2 separate regions of the Homo sapiens genome follow, and region 1 is linked to region 2. Evidence: promoter capture Hi-C in 16 types of primary human blood cells and fetal thymus (Javierre and others, 2016). All regions are on one chromosome and are shown on one strand. The core of a region is centred on a gene start or on the middle of the fragment in contact, and the rest is flanking DNA. Distances in the headings are between cores, read along the strand shown. Region 1 holds the start of NCKIPSD (NCK interacting protein with SH3 domain). Region 2 holds the start of TREX1 (three prime repair exonuclease 1).

Region 1 (6,759 bases), core at 284-2,783, 220 kb before region 2:
CCCAGCCCTAGTCCCCATTGCAATTTCACCAGTCTTATTCTTCAGGCAGTCCCAGACAGCACAGACCCCGAGATTCTGCCCTGCCCCAGGAGGGCTTCTGGGAGGAGGAAGGGCCAAGAGAGGTCTTGAACTGAAGAGCCAGACCTGGTGCAGAGAAGGCAGGGTCTGGATGTCAGTTTCTAGCAGTTCTACCCCTCACCTGAACCTCACACTAGGCCTATGTACTTTAGGCCTAAAAATAGGCAACTGGGTCAGACAGACACCCATAATCCCAACACTGGGAGGACTGCTTGAGTCCGGGAATTTGAGACTAGCCAGAGCAACATAGCAAGACCTTGTCTCTACTAAAAAAAAAAAAAAAAAAAAAAAAAAAAAAAGCTGAGTGTGGTGGTGCATGCCTGTAGTCCCAGAGACAGTAGGCTTGAGCCTGGAAGATCAAGGCTGCAATGAGCTTGATCATCCCACTGCACTCCAGCCTGGACGACAGAGCAAGACCCTGTCTCAAAAAATAAATACAGATAAAAATAGAAAACTTGCACACACTGGCCTGTACACGCCTCCTGCTTCCTGGGCTCGGGCTTCCTGTGGAGCGTAGCTGGACCATTCTCAGCCACAGTCTCTCCAGGACCCTGAGGGCCTCTTCCCTGGGTCTTCCAGGCACTCTTATTACACGGATTTCATATATCTGGAGATCTGGGCTGACTGGAAAGCTGGGTGGATCAAATAGGCTCTTAAGGCCACCGTGGTACCCCACTCCCTCTTTCAGCCCTCCTCTATGCTCTCAGAAAGGGGCATCGCAAATCTTAAGTCCTATAAAGACAATAAAACACAGCAAGATGATAGCGATTGATGGGGGTGGGAGCTTGACGGACAAATACTATAGGAGAGGGAAGGGAAAATTGTCCCAGGTAGAGGGAACAGAATATGCAAAGGCCCAATATAGAGAAAACCAGCCATAGCTGAAGAGAGAGGAGGAGTAGGGGTGGGGAGCAAAGATGGGAGGGCTTTAGACAGGGAATAGCCCCGCCTGGTTTCTGCTTTTGTGGCCCCCTTCTCCCCACACTTGCTCCCCACTGGCCACCACCGGCACTCGGTGAAGACAGGTGGTGAGGCCTAGACACACCGAGAGCCGGGCCCCGCGGGGGCTTCCAAGTGTCGGATCAGCAAGATCATCCTTTCGAGGTCGCCGTCCTTGCAATTAGTAGATGGGACCCACTGCCCCAGGGCGGTAGGGGCGCACCCGCTACGAGCGGAGCGCGCTTTCACCGGGAGGTAGGACGGGACGCAGCGCTCGGACTTAAGCGGGGAAAGGGAGCAGAGGGCTGGACGGGTGAAACTGAGGCCGGGGTGAGGAGTGAGGGTGCGGTGTCCGGGGATGAGGGGCCTGGAGCCGGGAGGGACCAGAGGAGACAGCGAGCTGTCGACCCCAGCCCCGCCGCACCTCTTGGGGCCGCGCGGGGGCGCTGCTCTCCGATGCGTGGAACGATACAGCCCGGGGCGGGGCTTCGGCGGGCGGGCGCGCGCGCGCCTGCGTAGTGTGTCACGGGGCGGGACAACCGCGGCGCGGCTCGGCGCTCCCGGCCTGGCGTTGTGGCGCCGCAGCCCTTGCCACCTTCCCTGCACCTGCCCTGCCCGGCCTCATGTACCGCGCGCTGTACGCGTTCCGCTCGGCGGAGCCCAACGCGCTGGCGTTCGCCGCGGGCGAGACCTTCCTGGTGCTAGAGCGAAGCAGCGCGCACTGGTGGCTGGCCGCGCGGGCGCGCAGTGGTGAGACGGGCTACGTGCCGCCAGCCTACCTGCGCCGCCTGCAGGTGAGTGCGCCCCTTCCCGCCCGGCCTCCGCGCCCCTGGGGCAGGACCCCTTCACAGCCCCGCGGAACCGACCCAGGGACCCCACCCTCTCCGGGACCCGAGGCCAGGACCTCTATCAGACAGGGAGTTTGAGAACCTGACCCTGAGACCCCCGGACCCACGGGGACTGAGACCCCAAGTGTCAGCATCACCCACAAAAGACCAGGCCCTTGACAGACCAACTCCCGATCGACCAAAAGCCTAACTCTGGGACTGAGACTCCTCAGGACCCCAGACCCTTCAGTATCGAGTCCGCCATCTGAATGGCGACCCTGAGCCCCACCGAATCCTGGCCAATTATTCAAATCCCTGAGACCCCAGATCCTTAATATGCCCCTTCTCTGGATTCCTAGGACCCCACAACCAACCTCCCTCCCTCCCTCCCTCCCTCCCTCCCTCCCTCCCTTCCTTCTTCCCCCAACCCCGCGCCTTGCCCCCCGTTGGAGCCACCACTGAGACCTGGACCACCTTGGACACCACCTGTTTCCCTAGCCATTCTCCAGGTCCTCAACCCCCCAACTTGGACCCTAGAGCCATAGACACCTCCATCCCCTATGTAACACCCAAGCTTTGGTACTTCAGTGTCTTTCACTAGCCTGTGTTCAGCCACCCTCTAAGCTCTTCTTAAGTCTCTACCAACCTTATTTGAACCAAGGACCCATGCCCCTGCTGACACTGTCTGCTCCACTCCCCAACCCTGACTTCTCAAACTTTCTTGCTTTGAAAATGGGTTCCATCCCTACTTGTTCCCAGCCTGGAGTGGGGACTGCTCACATTGTGATGAAGTGAGTTCTTATAGCTTCTCCTGGTCTGATCGTGGCCCCATTTCCTTCCAGTGGAAGCTGCAGTCCCAGTTCCTGTTTCCCTAAGAGTAGCCCTGCTGCGGGGGTTGGGGTGCGTATCTCCAGCTGGTCTATTCTGACCACAGGGGGAAGAAGGGCCCAGAGCTGCCGGGCCTGTGCCAGACACCCCCGCCCCGTCCTAGTCCTTATCCTTTAGGAAACATCCTGTCCCAGCCCAGTTCAGGACAGAAATAACGGGATAAATTTGGAAGTGTCATCTGGTCTTACCAGGAAGGATGGGCCCTGGGGGCCTAGGGGCTTCCTCATAGACCCTTGGCGTGATCCCATCTAGGAGTGCCAGGGGTGGGAGTGGGGGCCGTGGACACCATGGCTGCTGTGTGTCAGACCCAACCTTTTTGGGAATGGGGTCTCATTGAAGGCCTCTGAGGAAAAGTCCTGTCTCTTCCCCTACTGGGCATAGGTCAAGGGCCTGTGAGTCCCCTGCCGCCAGCCAGGACCAGTGGGGCAAGGTGTTTGGGGAGGGCAGAGAGGCTACCATCTTCTCTGTCACTGTCTGTTTCTTTCTGCGTGTCTCTTTCTGTCTGGATTGCTGCGACTCTGTGCCTCTCTGCCTGTGTCGTTCCGACTCCACATGTGTGTGTTTTTGTTTCTTCCTCCGGCTCCCCCCACACTCTGGCTTTGGCTCTGTTTCTTTCTGCGTTGTTTCCCTCTGTCTGCCTCTCCGTTCCTCTCTGAGCTCCTCTCTTTCCCCATTCCTTTCTTTCTCTCTCTCTCTGTGTGTGTGTGTGTGTGTGTGTGTGTGTGTGTGTGTGTGTCTTCATGTCTTTCTATCCCCCTGTCTCCTCTCCCTGCACTCTGGCACACCTCATACCACCTGGAGGGCTTTGCTGACCTCTGTGCCCACCTGTCTGTGCCCATCAGGGAAGCTTCTCAAACCCATGGTGGAATGAGTTCATCTCAGCTCCGGGACTCCTATGTAGCCTGATGGACTACGTGTGCCAGGGCCAGGGGAGGGCTGGGGGTAGCTGGTTTGATAGCTGCTACCCTACACTCCCCATGTCAGATAGGCAGAGTAGACTGGATCCCTGGAATGTTGGGGATGGCAGTACAGAGCCTGGAACAGGGGCTAGGCCCCTCTCTCATGTTTATCCTTTGCCACAAACACAGAACTGCTTCCCAGGGTGGGTTTGGAAGCTTACTGAGACATCTTGTGGGGATGAGGGCCAGCAGCAGGGTTGGGGAGGGCAAGTCCCTTTGACCCATTCTCAGCTCCCAGGGCTTACAGAGGGCCCTTACAAGGACAGGGCTGTTCTGGGGTATGACCTTGGTTTTGTGAAAGATCAGCAAGATGCAGAGTGATGTATTAAGGATTCCAGATACTGGAGACTTCCTGTTTGGCATCTCAACCTGGGCTCTGAGCCAAGACCAGGGATAGACGAGGTATGCGCTCCTGGCTGCAAGCTGGGAGCCCCTGGGCTATGTTTTTGCTTTAGACCTCTGATTTTCAGAAACATCTTAGCCAAGAGCCTTGCTGTGGGGTAAAATCCTGATCAGGACCTAATATGTAATGTGGCAGCATGGGGGTCACCCTGTGCCTCAGCTCCCTGAGTGATACAGTTTGAGAACCCCATTCCATATTCTGGTTCAACTTTTTGTGCTATGTCTAGCATTCCAGGCTTTCGCTATATTGGTTCTCTGCCCTGGGTTCTATCTCGGGCTGGGCCTGGGCTGAGCACCTCCGTTTGGCCTTCAGGTCTAACTGCTGTCCCCTGCCCCCCCCAGGGCCTGGAGCAGGATGTCCTCCAGGCCATTGACCGGGCCATCGAGGCTGTACACAACACAGCCATGCGGGATGGTGGCAAGTACAGCCTGGAACAGCGTGGAGTCCTCCAGTGAGTGTTGAGGGGAGTGAAGTGGGACCTCCCGGTGAGCATGGTGGGGTGGGGTTCTTCAATGAGTGTCATGGGGCAGGTGGGCCTGGGAAATGCGAGGGTTGGCAAGGGTGGTGGGGGAATGGCACCTCCCAGTGAGCAAGGTGGGGTCGGGTCCTTCAGTGAGCACCAGGGGTGTGCAGAGCGCAGGACTGAGGATAGTATGGGGTACTGTAGGCTGGGGTGGAGCATGGAGGAGATGGGGATGTCTGAGGGGCCTGGGCTATGGGGTCCCAGCATCCCACAGGGGCATATGAGGACTTTGAGCTGTGAGATGCAACCCCCCAATAGTCTTCCTGTCCTTCCATCAGGAAGCTGATCCACCACCGGAAAGAGACCCTGTCACGCAGAGGCCCTTCAGCCTCCAGTGTTGCAGTTATGACCTCATCAACCAGTGACCACCACTTGGATGCTGCTGCAGCCAGGCAGCCCAATGGGGTGTGTCGAGCTGGGTTCGAGCGGCAGCACAGCCTACCCAGTTCTGAGCATCTTGGGGCAGATGGAGGCCTCTACCAGGTGTGTGGGGAGGACATCGTGGAGAAGGGAGGTGGGTGGAACTTGAGGCTTCATCCAGAGGCTCAAGGGGTCCACTCAGGAGTGATGCGGCCCAGAGCCATAGTCCTGCCCACAGCCAGGGCTCAGGGCCCGAGCCTCGCTGACGCTCTAGATGTCAGTCTGTCCTCCAAGATCCTACTTCCATCTTCCAGATCCCACTTCCATCTTCCCAGATCCCACCACAGCCTCGCCGAGCAGCACCCACCACACCGCCCCCACCAGTGAAGCGCCGAGACCGCGAGGCCCTGATGGCCTCTGGGAGTGGTAAGAAGGCAGGGTTAGGGGAATTCAGGTGGAGGCACCCTATGCTTGGAATGGTTGTGCTGCCTGTGTCAGGGAAATGGAGGCTCTAAGCTGGGGAAGAGGACAGGACTCCCATTTTGGGGCAATTAGGGGCTCTGGGCTTTGTGAGGAGGCAGTGCCTAGCAGAGAAACTAGGCCCTGTGTTAGGGGACAGGGGATCTGGGCTGTGAAGGGTATGGTTTTCCAGGGGGCTGCCCTGGCCCAGCTTCTACTCACTGCTCGCAGGTGGCCACAACACCATGCCCTCCGGGGGTAACTCTGTGTCCAGCGGCTCCTCAGTCAGCAGCACCTCCCTGGACACGCTCTATACCAGCTCCAGCCCATCTGAACCAGGCTCCAGCTGCTCACCCACACCCCCACCTGTGCCCCGCCGAGGCACCCACACCACCGTGTCCCAAGTCCAGCCCCCTCCCTCCAAGGCATCAGCACCTGAACCCCCTGCAGAAGAAGAAGTGGCAACTGGTACAACCTCAGCCTCTGATGACCTGGAAGCCCTGGGTACACTGAGCCTGGGGACCACAGAGGAGAAGGCAGCAGCTGAGGCGGCTGTGCCCAGGACCATTGGGGCCGAGCTGATGGAGCTGGTGCGGAGAAACACTGGCCTGAGCCACGAATTATGCCGGGTGGCCATCGGCATCATAGTGGGTCACATCCAGGCCTCGGTGCCGGCCAGCTCACCAGTCATGGAGCAGGTCCTCCTCTCACTCGTAGAGGGCAAGGTGAGGGTGGGCGGCACAGCAGGGCCACCCTGCTACCCACCCTGTTCCCACCGTCACACACTTGTCCAGCCTGTACATTACAGGTATTTCTCAAGCTCTGGCTCTGAGCTCTTACTGTGCTGGGCACTGGGGACGTTGAGCTGATTTCTGAAGCAGAAAGGAAGGACAAGCATTCCAGGCAGATGCGCAGCCTGGACAAGGGCCACAAGGCAGGACTGAGCCTGGCTTGTGGGAGGAAGTGGAACAAGGCCTGCAGGACTGGAACACAGGGAGTGAGGGAGTGGGTGCTGTAGGAGGAGGTGAGACCTGGGGCAGGTGACAGATAAGACGACATGCGGGTGGCCAAGAGTTCTGTCTGGCTGCAGGGAAGGAATGGACACGGCGTGGGTGAGGGTAGTGCCTTGCTGACCTTGGCAGTAAGAGACATGGGTGCTGGGAGAGCTGGGATGGAGTCCTAGGTGCTGACATGGATGAGAGGGAGTGAGGTGTGTGGGCATCATGGGATGGGTGGGATCCTTGGCACTCATGAGCAGGATGGGGGCAGTGAGCCCAGCATACATGATGGGGGTCAGACAGACCAAAGGTCCCTCTTTAGTGC
Region 2 (2,775 bases), core at 1-2,500:
GGAGGAAGATCCTTGGTACCCCTGCTCTCTCCAAGGCTGGGACTAGTGTTCCTGGTTGTGGCCAGGTGTGCAGTGGTTGTGACAGCAGATGGTCTTGGCTTGGTCCTAGCAGAGGCTGTGACCCCATACATGGGCCTGATGGTGCCGAAAGGCCTGGCGTGAGCATCCACCCACCGCAGCAGGGCCTGTGGTCTCCACTGACAGATGCTGAGCAGGGCCAGGACATCACCCTCAGCCGTGTGCGAGTCTGGAGGGGACTGCCCATACAGGCGAGTGTAGATGCTGCCTAGGCTATAGCTCTTCCTTGGGCCGTGTTCTGAGGGGCTGCTTGCTCGCTCCAGGGCCTTCAGCGCAGTGATGCTATCCACACAGAAGGCACCATCCAGAGCACTGGTGAGGCCCAGCATAGCCAGCTCTGCTTGGAGCAGGGGGAAGTCGTAGCGGTCACCATTGTGTGCCACCAGGCACCAGGGCTGTGGCTGGCGCCGCAGGAAGGCTAGGAGCAGGTTGGCCAGGTTGTCATCAAAACATTGACGCCCATGCGCTGCCAGCACAGCTGTGCTCAGACCTGTGATCTCGCTGGCTGCAGGGCTGCAGGCCTTCCCCGGAGCCACACACAGGGAGAGCTTGTCTACCACACGCGGTGGTGGAGGAACTGTGGGAGGTGGCCCCTGAGAGGTGGGGGGGCTCTCCAGGGCACATCTGTGGACAGCCAGCAGGCACAGCTCCGTGACCTTGGGCTGGGAGAAGGGCAAGCCAGTGGCCTCCATGTCGAAAAAGATGAGGGTCTGCATGGGCCCCGGGGGCAGGGCCTGCGAGCCCATGGTTGGGTACGTACCTGCTGCTGAGCCTGGAGAGGAGCATGGGGTGGGTGTGTGAGTGCCCAGTGTTAAGATCCGAAGGGGAGGGAGTGGGGTAGGGGGTGGGCAGAAGCACATCTCAGGCCTTCCCTGCACAATCCTGCCCTGTCTGCGAGCTCCAGGGCCCATTTTCAGGCAGGAAGTTGGAGAGGGTGAGGTGGTTTCCTTAGTGGGACCAGCACATTCGACTGTCTGAGAGGGTCTCCCTCTTCACATGACTCGGCCCCTCCCCTAGTGCCCCCTTAGTCTGGGGTGGGGGAACCCATGGCCCTCCTGCCCTGCGCCATCCCATTGTGGGGGCCACACTCACCGTAGCAGGCAGGCAGGCAGGCAGTAGTGACTCGGCTGCACACTCTCCCGCGGCTCTCGCTGGCAGCAGTGGCGGGAAGTGAAACTTGGCGTGGGCCCGCCTACAGGCCCACGTGAGCCAGGCCCGCCCTGCTCGTCAGCCTGCCTGGTCTGTCCCTCTCACCACCATCCGTTCCCCCCCACACCCACTCCCCTGCTCCCGGGGGACCCCAGAGGCCTTCCAAGATCCACAGCTGTGGCCTGCTGGTGGCACAATGCACCGGGGCCATCATACCAGTGACAGGCAGCTGGAAGGACCAGGGCAGTGGTGCCAGACCAGCTCCCGGTCTTACACACTGCTGGGAGCCCCTGCTGCGGCCCTTTCATGCCCACCTGTGGGTCCCAGTTTCCCAGGCTTTCCTGGTTTAGGCCTGGGCCAAGAGCCACCTCCTTCCCTGCCACACAATGGTTTCTTCCCATGGCCCCAGCCCAAAGCAATGACTCAGGACAATTCCACAGGCAGGGCAGGGCTCCTTCCTCAAGGCAGATCAGTTACCATGGGGACGGGCTCAGCAACAGCCAGGGACAGGAAGAAGGATCCCAGCCACTCAGGGTCCGGGTCCTGCTCCACCCCTCCCACTCCGCCAAACAGATCAGACTCAGGAAACAAGGCCAGCCAGTTCTCTGGGCAGTTCCTGCTGGTCACTGCTTTAATCAGTTGATGTGGTAAGGAAAGGAGTGGTGCTGGTGCCACCATGTGGCTGGACACTCAGGGCCTCAGCCACACTCCACCTCGGGGTCTTCCACATCGGTTTCCGCGGCACAGAGGTCATCCAGGGCTGCCTCTGAGACAAAAAGGAGAGGTTCCTGGTGAGGGCCCAAAGGTGCCAGGGCCTAGGGCAGGTCCCACCTCTCCTCCCCCAACGTCCGCAGGAACTAACCAGTCCCTTCCACACCCAGGCCCTGCTCCCTCAGCTACTGCAAACAAAGTGATACAAAGGCAATTCAGACACGGCTATTTCTGGAAAAACCGTGGCTCTGCCAGGCACACTCAACAGATAGATGCAAAAGGCATCCCAATATGCTTGGAGAAGAACTGAGGCAGGAAGATAAAAGAAAATGGCCCCAGTGCTGGAACAGGCTGCAGTGGGCGGGGGCCTGCTGAGGGGACACCCAGGAATCTGACTTGTTGGGGAACCTCTGGAAGAAGCCATGGGGGCTGGGCAGGATGGCCTCTGGCAGGCTTACCTTCACAGTCCGTCACATCAGGAAGCCCTCGGATGAGCATGCTGACCCCCGGCATCACCTGGTCAAACTGATGCAGGACCTCCACGCAGTGCATCATGAAGAGCTTGTCCTTCTGCGATAGGCCGTGCAGCAGCAGCACCGTGTCCCGCAGACAGCGCACTGTCCGCCTCTGCTGGTCGGTCCTTGGGGGTCCCCCTGCCCTCCGCACTGTCAGCCACTGTCTGTGCAACATCACCGTGAGCGCTCTGACCACCTGAGAGAGGGGGGGTGCAGACTGAGGCCTGGTGCCACCATGGCCTGCACCCTAACAATCCGCTCAGCCTAGCCACCTCACGTGAGGGGGTTTGCAGTGGGGCCTACAGTCCTTGCACGGGGCCCC

The links. The method cuts DNA at HindIII sites, captures the fragments that hold promoters and counts their contacts. A CHiCAGO score of 5 or more calls a contact.
Region 1: the fragment with the promoter of NCKIPSD here is called in contact with the fragment with the promoter of TREX1 in region 2 in 4 of 17 cell types (M2 macrophages, M0 macrophages, M1 macrophages and 1 more); the score reaches 10.3 in M2 macrophages.

The regions. Positions count from the first base shown.
Region 1 is chr3:48,680,689-48,687,447 of GRCh38, reverse strand. It overlaps NCKIPSD (NCK interacting protein with SH3 domain), which reads left to right and starts at 1,533. Exons shown (of 13, transcript NM_016453.4): 1 at 1,533-1,811; 2 at 4,436-4,545; 3 at 4,896-5,100; 4 at 5,292-5,403; 5 at 5,668-6,161. The coding sequence starts at 1,641. RefSeq lists enhancers at 1,026-1,095, 690-1,421 and silencers at 1,618-1,912, 1,306-2,025. The HindIII fragment of the contact is 7,513 bases long and covers 1-2,420 here.
Region 2 is chr3:48,464,705-48,467,479 of GRCh38, reverse strand. It overlaps TREX1 (three prime repair exonuclease 1), which reads right to left and starts at 1,250. Exons shown (of 2, transcript NM_033629.6): 1 at 1,171-1,250; 2 at 1-850. The coding sequence starts at 824. ATRIP (ATR interacting protein) reads right to left here. Exons shown (of 13, transcript NM_130384.3): 12 at 2,397-2,649; 13 at 1-1,993. The coding sequence ends at 1,926. It overlaps ATRIP-TREX1 (ATRIP-TREX1 readthrough), which reads right to left. Exons shown (of 15, transcript NR_153405.1): 13 at 2,397-2,649; 14 at 1,171-1,993; 15 at 1-850. RefSeq lists enhancers at 1-440, 655-854, 441-1,322, 1,935-2,024. The HindIII fragment of the contact is 3,980 bases long and covers 1-2,775 here.